3 separate regions of the Homo sapiens genome follow, and all the other regions are linked to region 1. Evidence: promoter capture Hi-C in 16 types of primary human blood cells and fetal thymus (Javierre and others, 2016). All regions are on one chromosome and are shown on one strand. The core of a region is centred on a gene start or on the middle of the fragment in contact, and the rest is flanking DNA. Distances in the headings are between cores, read along the strand shown. Region 1 holds the start of STX11 (syntaxin 11). Region 2 has its middle 16 kb from the start of FUCA2. Region 3 overlaps PHACTR2-AS1 (PHACTR2 antisense RNA 1).

Evidence for each region. Contacts are between HindIII fragments. The CHiCAGO score rates a contact against its expected background, and 5 or more counts as called.
Region 2: a contact is called between a fragment that was not itself captured here and the fragment with the promoter of STX11 in region 1, in 1 of 17 cell types (monocytes). The highest score is 5.2, in monocytes.
Region 3: a contact is called between a fragment that was not itself captured here and the fragment with the promoter of STX11 in region 1, in 1 of 17 cell types (neutrophils). The highest score is 5.8, in neutrophils.

Annotation. Positions count from the first base shown.
Region 1 is chr6:144,148,618-144,152,072 of GRCh38, forward strand. It overlaps STX11 (syntaxin 11), which reads left to right and starts at 1,900. Exons shown (of 2, transcript NM_003764.4): 1 at 1,900-2,086. RefSeq lists a silencer at 1,587-2,026. The HindIII fragment of the contact is 10,810 bases long and covers 1-3,455 here.
Region 2 is chr6:143,526,465-143,529,919 of GRCh38, forward strand. No RefSeq gene overlaps it. Among named protein-coding and RNA genes, the nearest start is that of FUCA2, 16 kb to the left of the region's middle. The HindIII fragment of the contact is 5,428 bases long and covers 1-3,455 here.
Region 3 is chr6:143,563,897-143,567,351 of GRCh38, forward strand. All of the region lies in intron 1 of PHACTR2-AS1 (PHACTR2 antisense RNA 1), which reads right to left. It also overlaps a transcript of PHACTR2 not described here. Among named protein-coding and RNA genes, the nearest start is that of PHACTR2-AS1, 3.7 kb to the right of the region's middle. The HindIII fragment of the contact is 5,792 bases long and covers 1-3,455 here.

The sequences.
Region 1 (3,455 bases), core at 650-3,149:
TCCATGCTTTATTTAGATTTCCTTAGTTTTTCCCCAAGTCCTTTTTCTGTCCCAGGATCCCATCCAGGATACCACATTACATTTAGTTTTCACGTCTCCTGAGTTTCTTCTAGGCTGCGGCAGTTTTTCAGACTTTCCTTATTTTATTTTATTTTTTGTAGAGACAGCATCTGGCTATGTCGGCCAGATCAGGCCTCGAACTCCTGGCCTCAAGCAATCCTCTCGCTTCAGCCTCTCAAAGTGTACGGATTACAGGCGTGAGCCACGTCTGGACTGTACTTTCCTTACTTTTGATAACCTGACAACTTTGAGGAATATTGGTCAGGTATTTTGTAGGATGTTCCACTACTGGAATTTGTTTGATATTTTTCTCATTATGAGACTGAGGTTATGGTTTTCCAGGAGGGAGACCACACATGTAATATGCCACATTCATCACATCATATTGACTACATGCCATCAATGAGTCACGATTGTTGACGTTGGCTTAGAACATCTGGCTGGGGTAGTGTCTGTCGGCTTTCTCCATTGTAAACCTACTGTTTTTCCCTTTCCACATTGTACTATTTTGGAGGAAGTCACTGTGCACAGCCTAGGGTACATGATCTACATAAATTATTTGGAATTATTCTGTATAGGAGATTTGTCTCCTCTCCGCCTTTTATTTATTTATTCAATTATTTATTTATATCAGTGTAGACTCATGGATTTTTTTACTTTGGCTTGTAATCCAATACTACCTTGTTTAGTTTACTTCGTTGCTCAAATGGTTCCATCTTTGGCAACTGGGAGCTTTCAGGTGGTTCCTGTGTCTAAACATTCTGCCATCAAGGCAGGATTCGTTCTTTAGTTTTATTTTTTTTCTTCTCATTCAATTGAGACAGCGTCTCATTCTGTCGCCCAGGCTGGAGTACAGTGGCGCGATCTCGGCTCACTGCATCCTTGACCTCTCAGCCTCAAGTGATCCTCCCACCTTAGCCTCCCGAGCAGCTGGGATCACAGCGTGCGCCACCACGCCCAGTTAATTTTTTTATTTTTTGTAGAGATAGGCTTTCACCACATCGCTCAGGCTGGTCTCAAACTCCTGGGCTCAAGAGATCCTCCCCCTTCGGCCTCCCAAAGTGTTAGGAATACGCGCGTGAGCCACCGCGCCCGGCCCGATTTTTCCTTTTTTGAGTATCACTTCCTTACTTTTCAGCCTCAGCCTTGTTTTTCAAGGTGCTTTACCACCACCTGGCACAATCCACACTTTCTATTTATCCCTCCCCGTTAAAGTGCCGGGACCTGGAGGGTGGGTCTTGGCAGTATTTTTGAGCGCGGTGGGCACACAAGGGGACGCTCAGTTGATATCCAGAGAATGATGAGCCCGGCGGGTGTTGAGGCCGACTGGAGAGAGGTTGGTCGGCAGGGTTCTGGGAAGGCGGTGCTCGGCCTCCGTGTGACCGCAGGCTCCTCGCCCGCGTCCTCGAGGGTCCCAGGGATGCAGGACCTGCCGCAGCTTCCGCAGCCACACCCACGCTCAGAGACGGCTTCCAGCGTCCTCGCCGCGGCAACGCACCGGACTGCAAATGTCACCAGCGCAGCGGGGATTCCCGGGGGAAGTCCAGCGCGCTCCCTGCCCTGGGGACCAGAGGACGAGCGGAGGAAGTGTCTTGGGCGGCAAACATCCCACTCCCCGCGCCGGTCCGCGCAGCCCGCGGGAACGCCCCTGGGCTTGCGGGAGGGGCTGGAGCGCGTCCCCGGCTCCGGGCGGTCCCGAGCGCATGGACTCTGGGTGGGGCGGGAACCCGCGCTCTGTGAGCCGGCTGCCGCCGCGCCCCAGCGCTGTCATCCCGGGGCGGGGCCTGGTCCCCAGCTGTGGTCGCTTCCTAAGCGGCGGGGGCTGAGCCGGCGGCGCCCAGATGCGGCCGCGGCGGCGCGGAGCTCGGGCGGCCGTGGAGGAACTCAGCCTCGGCCGCAGGAGGCGCCGGGAGCGGAGCCGCCGGGAGTCGCGCAACAGGTTTCCTTCTCCATCGCTGCGCCCACAGGGGACGCGCGCCCTGCCGGGAGAGGGGCTTCTCGGTTCGCACTCTCGCTCCCAGTCCAGGTTTGTTTTTCTCTTCCTGAGCCCCCATTTCTCTTCCTGACTATTTTCCCCGTGCGCGGAGAGATCGGGGAGGGCGGGTCGGGGCGGGGGCACTGTCTAGGCTCGGGACCCGCGGCTGTGCCTTAGGTGGGATTTTGGATCTGGCGCAGGTCCTCACGCCGCCTCTGGGCACCTTCGGAAACACAGCATTGGGTTTCTCATATAAAGCAGAATGATTTTTTAAAATTACTTTTAATTTCAGAGGCTGAGGGACTTAGGATTTAGTGCTTCGTAAGAATTATTTTAGGGATACCTGTTGGTAGGCTGCCTTTATAAAGTGTCCACCCAAGACTACTTTTATTTTAAATCGAAAGGCTGGAGTGTTTTTTTATTATCACCTCTTCACTTCCTAGTAGGGTGACTGTGTCAAAAACACCAGAATGGGTACTTCTTGACTTGAACTTGGCGGTGTCACTCAGTAGCCAGGAAAGACGGAGAAATTGATAGAGCCTTCGAGGAGTCCCTTCGAAGCCCACGTAAGACTTTGTTTTAGAAACATGGAGAGAAGTAGTGGCAATGCCTGCGAGAGCCACGCCGTCCTGAGAGGGAATTCTGCCTTTTTCTAGACTCCGCTGACACCAGCTGAGATCTGTATTACTTCCTGTGGTTCTCACGCACTTGTTTCAGCCGTTTCTCAGCAGAGGGAGGAGCTGTTATTTACAGGTATCCAAAAATGAGTCACAGGGCTGCTCTCTTAATTGTGAGACTTTGTTAATGAACTTTTGAAAAGCGAGGCTTGCTTTAAAATGAGACTCTAGATGTGAAATGCCTGCCCTGCCAACCTGGGGCAGTGGTATGGGAAGTGACGATTGAGTTTTCAGTTTCCTAAGGCGCCTGATGTTACAACATGCCAGTAAAGGTCACTGGGCTGATCTAAGATAACCATTGAAATCATGTGCTTTGCCACAGATGCCCAAGAGAAAATTAATTTCATTATTCAATGACCATTTTGCTGTCATTTTCACTGCATGGGAGAAAGGTATCATTTAATGTGGTGATTGTAAGTAACTCTCTAAAATCAAAATATTTCAGACAGTTTGTGTTTACTAAATTGGTGCTAAAACCACATGATGATTTTTGAAGCGGGTGGGTCCCAGCGGGAGCAGAGAAATTTAAAAGTTGAAGCTGACAAGTCCTATTGCGGTGGGTAACAGCCCTTAGGAAGGGACTGCACACTATCTCAACACGGTAGAGAAGGGGACACCATCTCTACTGGAGCTGAGTTGAGCTGAATTCAGCCTCAAACAACAGTTACCAGGTACCTTCTCTGTGCCAGCCTCTTCCCTGAACCTTGCTTGTACAACCATGAATAATAGGATCCTGCCGGCAA
Region 2 (3,455 bases), core at 315-2,814, 620 kb before region 1:
TATATGGAAGCTAAAAAAAGTTTATCTCACAGAAGTGAAAAGTAGAGCAGAAGATACTAGAGGCTGGGAAGAGTAGAGGGAAGGAAGGAATAGGAACAGATTTGTTAAAGGGTACAAAATTATAGCTAGACAGAAGAAATAAGTTCTAGTGTCCTATACCATTATAGGATGACTATAGTTAACAATAACATATTATATAGTTTCAAATGGCTAGAAGGAGGATATTGAATGTTCCCAACACAAAGAAATGATAAATGTTTGGGATAAGGGATATGCTAATTACCCTGATGTGATCATATACATTATATGTATTGAAACATCGCTATGTACCCCACGAATATGCACAATTATTGTGTGTCAATTAAAAATAAAGGTATAAAAGAAAAAAAAACCCATGGCTGAGTGTAGCAGGGATGGAAGGAGTCCCTAGTGAATCACTTGCCTTCAATGAGAGAGTTAGAGTCACAGAAGCAGCAATTGCTGAGGCTAACACTCAAGATAGTCCCCTCCTGTCTTCCTACACTCATAAGCCCAAAAGTTCTTGTTTGGTTCAAGACAAGGAAGGCATCCTGGAAAATGTCTTTTAGGCAATGTTTGTAGAAGGAGCTGAGCTAGGTGTGATTTATAGAAACAAAGAAATAGAATGTGTATCCTGAATGTCTTAGAGCAGTGCTCCTACTACATGCCATTCATTACACCCAGTGCTTTATATACACGAATTTCAATCCTGAAAACACCACCACAAATTAAACGTATGCATTACTTAGGGATCAAATTGAGGTATCAAAATTGAAGCAAAAGACAGTGATGCTGATCACATTTCTTCTGTGCCTAAATCTTTTTACAGGCCTCTGTTTCACATTCCAGCACGTCCCCGCTCTCCTCCAAGCCTCCAGCCATACTCACCTCCCTCCTCTTCGCTTCCATTTTCCTGCCTTGGGCCCGCATGCATGGTATTTTCCCTGCCTGGGATGCCTTCCCTGCCTCTTCCTCTTTTTTATCCCTACTCACTTGTATAAGCCACTTCTTGTGTCCTGAAACTTTTCCTGACTCACCCCAAAAGGGTCAATTATTCCCTCCTTTATCTCTCCACTGTAGTTTGTACACCCCTGTCTCCTATGCTGCTAGTCCAAGATTAGAGAGATTCCTATTCACTTCTGTGTGCCCAGCACAGAGCCTGAGCCTGTTAGGACATAGTAGCTGTTTTAATTTATTTATGTTTTATTGTATTTTTAATTGACAAGTAATAATTGCATATATTTATAGCATACATGAAGTTTCAAGGCATGTATAGATTGTGGAATGATCAAATCAAGACAATTAGCCTATCTATTACTGCAAATATTTATCTTTTTTTGAGATGGGGTCTCACTGTGTTGCCCAGGCTGGAGTATAGTGGCTCAATCATGGCTTACTGCAGCCTCAACCTCCCTGGGCTCAGGTGATCCTCCCACCTCAGACACCAGAGTCTCTGGGAGTACAGGTGCACATCACCACACCTGGCTAATTTTTGTAGTTTTTTTGTAGTGATGGGGTTTTGCCATATTGCCCAGGCTGGTCTTGAACTCGTGGGCTTAAGCAATCTGCCTGTCTCAACCTCCCAAAACTAGGATTACGGGCGTGAGCCACTGCATCTGGCCCAAATATTTATCATTTCTTTGTTGTGAGAACACCTAAAATGCTCTCTTTTCATTATTCCACAAAATGTATATATTCCAAAATATGTATAGTCACCATGCTGTTGCGATACAGCACCAGACCTATTCCTCCTCCCGTCTGACTGACTGAAACCCTGGACCTGTTGAGTAACATCTCCTCTTTCTCCATCCACCCCATCGCACCCCAGTCTCTGATAACCACCATCCTACACTCCACTTCTATGAGTTTGTTTTAGAGTAAGAAGAAGAAAGGAAGAGTGGGAGGAAGAGAGCATGGTAAAGGAGGTGTTTACTTTTGCAGCCTGGTACTCTAGAGGGAAATGGTGGGATGGGCTCAAAACTATGAGCCAGCTTTGGCCTCTCTCATAAAATGAATTCATCTTCGATTTTAAAATGAAAACAAAGAAAAAATTTCACAGAACCATCACATTCCACACCAGAAGAGGCCTTAGAGACCATCAAAACTAACTTCCTGTTTTTTGTTTCTCTCTCTTTTTTTTAAGTGACTTTAAAAGCAGGCCTACTTTCACTATCAGATGGTGATTTATCCTCACTCTGCTGATTACCTGGATTCCTTGCCTTTCTCTTATTTCATTTTCATCGTGTATCGTCAATTTTGATCTCTGCCGTTTCTTTTCAGATAATATTTTGATCTTTCTCTTACTTGCAGTCATTTTTATCTGCCTATATTAAGGAAATGCTATTGTCAGTGAAAGACACTTAGTTCTAATGCCAAGTATTTTGGGAAAATATTTCATAAGAAAACATACCATATTTTTATGTGCATGTTTTGCATATAAACTCTGAGAAATAAAACTTTTTAATATATTTGGGGGATGGGGAAGATAGCAAAAGAAAACTGCAATTATAAAAATAATTAGTTAGAAGGGGATGGGTATTGTCTCAAGGAATGCCTTCAGGAAGTTTTGATTTTAACCAGAGTGTCACACCTGTTTCCATTACCATGAAAAATCCACATTCATGCATCTAAAGACTACTAGTGATGAAATAGGGACAAATTCAGTTACAAAGGTCGTTTAGCTCCCTAGCTTGTCTAATTTATGAAATGTGGATAGCTTTCATTATGTATTAAAGCCTTTGAATAACAATTCCTCCTTCTGTAAGTGAATCTGCAATGTATAAAGAGCCCTCCAAGTGGCACTGTGGCTTTAAGAGGGGCTCCTGGCACAGCAAGGAGGAGGAAGACACTGGCCAGAGATGAGACAGATCCCAGCCCACATTTGGGCTCCTGCTGAAGGCAGTGTTCCTAGCACTGATGGGCGGAACAAGCTAGTTGATAAATTTTCATTTATTTCTTTTATAATCTTACATAAGTCATCACTTTAAAGAGAGTGGTAAAGCAGTGAGGTACAGTTTTTTTGTTTCTGTTATTTTTTTTAATTTTATTTTTGGTATTAAACACTCTTATATGATTAAAACTATGCTTATTTCATCTTCAGTTTTTATCCCTAACCTTTTGGAAATGGTATTCAATGAAAATAGCTAAATAAACTAATAGAGTTTAGAAACATTTTGCTTTGAAAAGCTGTACTGGATGCCTCTTTTTTTAAAATCAGTGTCAAACAGGCACATTTCCTACGTGCTGGCCAACATGTCCGTGGTACCAAGGGACAAGTCTAAGGAGAAAGAAATCTTTTTTTTTTTTTTTTTTTTTTGAGACGGAGTCTCGCTCTGTCGCCCAGGCTGGAGTGCAGTGGCGCGATCTCCGCTCACTGCAAGCTCCGCCTCCCGGGTTCACGCCATTCTCCTGCCTCAGCCTCCCGAGTAGCTGGGACT
Region 3 (3,455 bases), core at 708-3,207, 580 kb before region 1:
GGGAGGTTGAGGTGGGAGGATTGCTGGAACCCTTGAGGTCGAGGCTGCATTGAGCTGAGATCGTGTCACTGCACTCTAGTCTGGGTGACAGAGTGAGATCCTGTCTCAAATAAATAAATAATTGAAAGTTAATTATACTTCTGTCTATGGAATTTTTTACTTCACATAAGCTGAGAGAAGTCAAACTTGGGTTATTGAAATGCTTTAGAAAATTGTTAAACTGTTTACTTTTTTAAGTTTTTAGTCTGTCTTAGTTATATGTGTGTGTGCATATATGTGTGTGTGTATGTGTGTGTGTGCATATATATATATATATATATATATATATATATATATATATGTATGCCACTGCACTCTAACCTTGGCAACAGAGTGAGAACCTGTCTCTAAAAAATAGTAAAAAATAAGTTAATAATAAAATAAGTTGGCCAGGTGCAGTGGCTCATGCCTGTAATCACAGCACTTTGCAAGGCTGAGACACATAATAATGCCCAAGAGTAAAAATTAAGTAAACAGTTATAACATGATTAGTCATTTTATTTATTTTATTTTGCTGGATTGGAGTCTGCTGTTATATCATATAAAACATTTGCTAGGATTTTGTATTTTTAACACCCATGCACATTTATGGGAATTCATTAGAGGGGGAAGCCTGGATTTAAAATTTCCCTCCATGAAACAGTTAAAGATCAAGAGGTGAATCGTGTGGGATATGAAGCATGTCATGGCTGAGCTGCTGACGAGGCCTCGGCTGTGCTTTGCATCATGTAAGGGCTCAGCACCCTGAGAAGGTGCCTGGTAAATGCCACTGGCTGATCGGACGGCAGTTCTCGGAAGGCCTGCTGATCAGAAACAGAGCCTTTGGCAGAATCTCAATGGCAAAGTCACAAACAGTAACAGTCCCTAAAATAACAACTGCAACCTCAGCAAAATGAAAACCTTCTATGTGGGAGGTATAATGGGAAATGTATTGATTGGTATTTTTCTCCAGATACATGAATAGTGATCACAAGTAGAGATGCTCCCCTTTTCTACAAAGGAAAAGGTGTAAAACATTGGTTTTACAATGTAGGAAAACCAATAAAATGGTGGTATAAAACATTGATCACCATCAGCAGATTCTTCTAGCAAGAATGGCAGTTCAAGCCAATAGATATGTTTCATGAATTTTGTGGTTGCAAGTGGCTGGAATGGAATGAAAATCAGCTTTCACGAATCCATTCTCTCATTCTTCTCATTTTAATGAGCACCTACTGCATGCTAGGCATTGTTCTAGGTATGTGCAGGATATCAGCGAGCCTAGCCAAGATTAAATTCTCTCTGCTCAGATACAGAAAATAAGGGATACACATCATACAAAAATACATAATATGTTAGAAAGTGGAAAAAGTAAGTAGAAAAAAGAAAAAGTACAGCAGCAAGGGAAATTCAAGAGTGCCAGGCCGGGCGCGGTGGCTCACGCCTGTAATCCCGGCACTTTGGGAGTCCAAGGTGGGCGGATCACGAGGTCAGGAGATCGAGACCATCCTGGCTAACACGGTGAAACCCCGTCTCTACTAAAAATACAAAAAATTAGCCGGGCGTGGTGGTGGGCGCTACACGGGAAGCTGAGGCAGGAGAATGGCGTGAACCCGGGAGGCGGAGCTTGCAGTGAGCCAAGATCGCGCCACTGCACTCCAGCCTGGGTGACAGAGCGAGACTCCGTCTCAAAAAAAAAAAAAAAAAAAGAGTGCCAAAAAATGGTGGGCATGGAGCAGGGGCATTAGGTGGGCAGAGGCAGCTCTGCTGAGATGGTGATAAGTGAACAGAGTCCTGGAGCAGAAAACCAGTGGATGATGGGGGAAGAGCATTCCGGGTAAAGGAGGTAGGAGGGCCCCAGAATGGAGCCTGCCAAGCTGGATCTGGGCCTATGGTTGCTGCAGGGTGGAGTGAGGGCAGGGTCTTGCGGGCTTTCACTTTGGGCGGGAAGGGGAGTCTGCGCAGGGTCCTGAGCAGAGGAGTGAACTGACCTACAGATAATTTTTAAAAAGCATTCACTTTGCTGCTGTGTTGGAAATAGAGGGTAGGGGCATGGGCAGGGTGGAAGTCAGGAGGCTTGTGGGGGGTTATCCTTAGGTCCCAATGAGACACAGTGAAGGGCTGATCACCAGCCTCCAACTTCTGGGCTCAAGCAATCCTCCCGCCTTAGCTTTCTGAGTAGCTAGGCCTTCTGGTGCACATCATGCCCTGCTAATTTTTCTATTTTTTTGTAGAGATGGCATCTCGCTATGTTGCCCAAGCTGGCCTTGAACTCCAGGCCTCAAGCAATCCTCCTGCCTCAGCCTCCCAAAGTGCTGGGATTACAGGCATGAACCACTGCATCTTGCCAGTTTATTTTATTATTATCATTTATTTACTTATTTTGTATTTTTTTTTAGAGACAGGGTCTCACTCTGTTGCCAGGCTGGAGTTCAGTGGTACAATCGTAGCTCACTGCAGCCTCCAACTCCTGGGCTCAAGCCATCCTCCCACCTCAGCCTCACAAGTAGCTGGGACTACAGGCACATGCCACCATGCCCAGCTATTCTTTTGTTGTTGTTGTTGTTTTGTAGAGAAAGGGGTCTTACTGTGTTGCCCAGGCTGATGTTGAACTCCTGGCCTCAAGCAATCCTCCTACCTTGGCTTTCCAAAGTGCTTGGATTACAGATGTGAGCCACTGTGTCCAGCCATTTTTTAGTAAAACTTAAATATAAACCAAAAGTAGGTAGAATAGTCTAATGATCCCTCATGCACATGGTCCCTGTCCCTCTTACTAACTCATAGTCAAAATTGTTTCTTCCTCATGCCTATCTGCTTGCCTTCCCTAACCTCAGAATATTTTTAAATGAATTCCAGACATCATATTATTTTTCCCACAAATATTTCAGCATGTAATACTAAAGAATAAGGACTTTTCAAAAAAAAAAACCCCACAATGCCATTATCATACTAAAAAAAATTTAACATTAATAACATTAGCTAGTCAGTCAGCATTCAAATTTCCCCCATTGTCTCATCAATGAATGTTTGGATCAGGATCCGATTAAGTTTGACCCATTCCATTTGGTTCAGAATTTCCTTTTGAAGCGTCTCTGTAGATGATTTATCTAAAGCCATTAGCAGCCACACACTCAGTTCCGTGTTCCTCATCATCTACACGTCGCGCTCCTTTCTGTGTCTTTCCCAGAGCAGTGGCCTCTCTTGTCACTGTAACACTTTCACTTCTTTAATTCACTACCTCGAAGTACCAAAGTGACTTTAGCGCCCCAAGTATTCTGGAGTCATTGTGAAAGCTGCAGATGTGGTTTAAGTGTGTTTGGCTTTTGAAAACCCCCAAAAATTTAGATACGCAGCAAAATTCATGGTTCCCTCCCTCTCTCGTTCTCTCATTTAGAGAGAAGAGACACTTTCTCCTATAGTTTTCTCCATACAGGCTT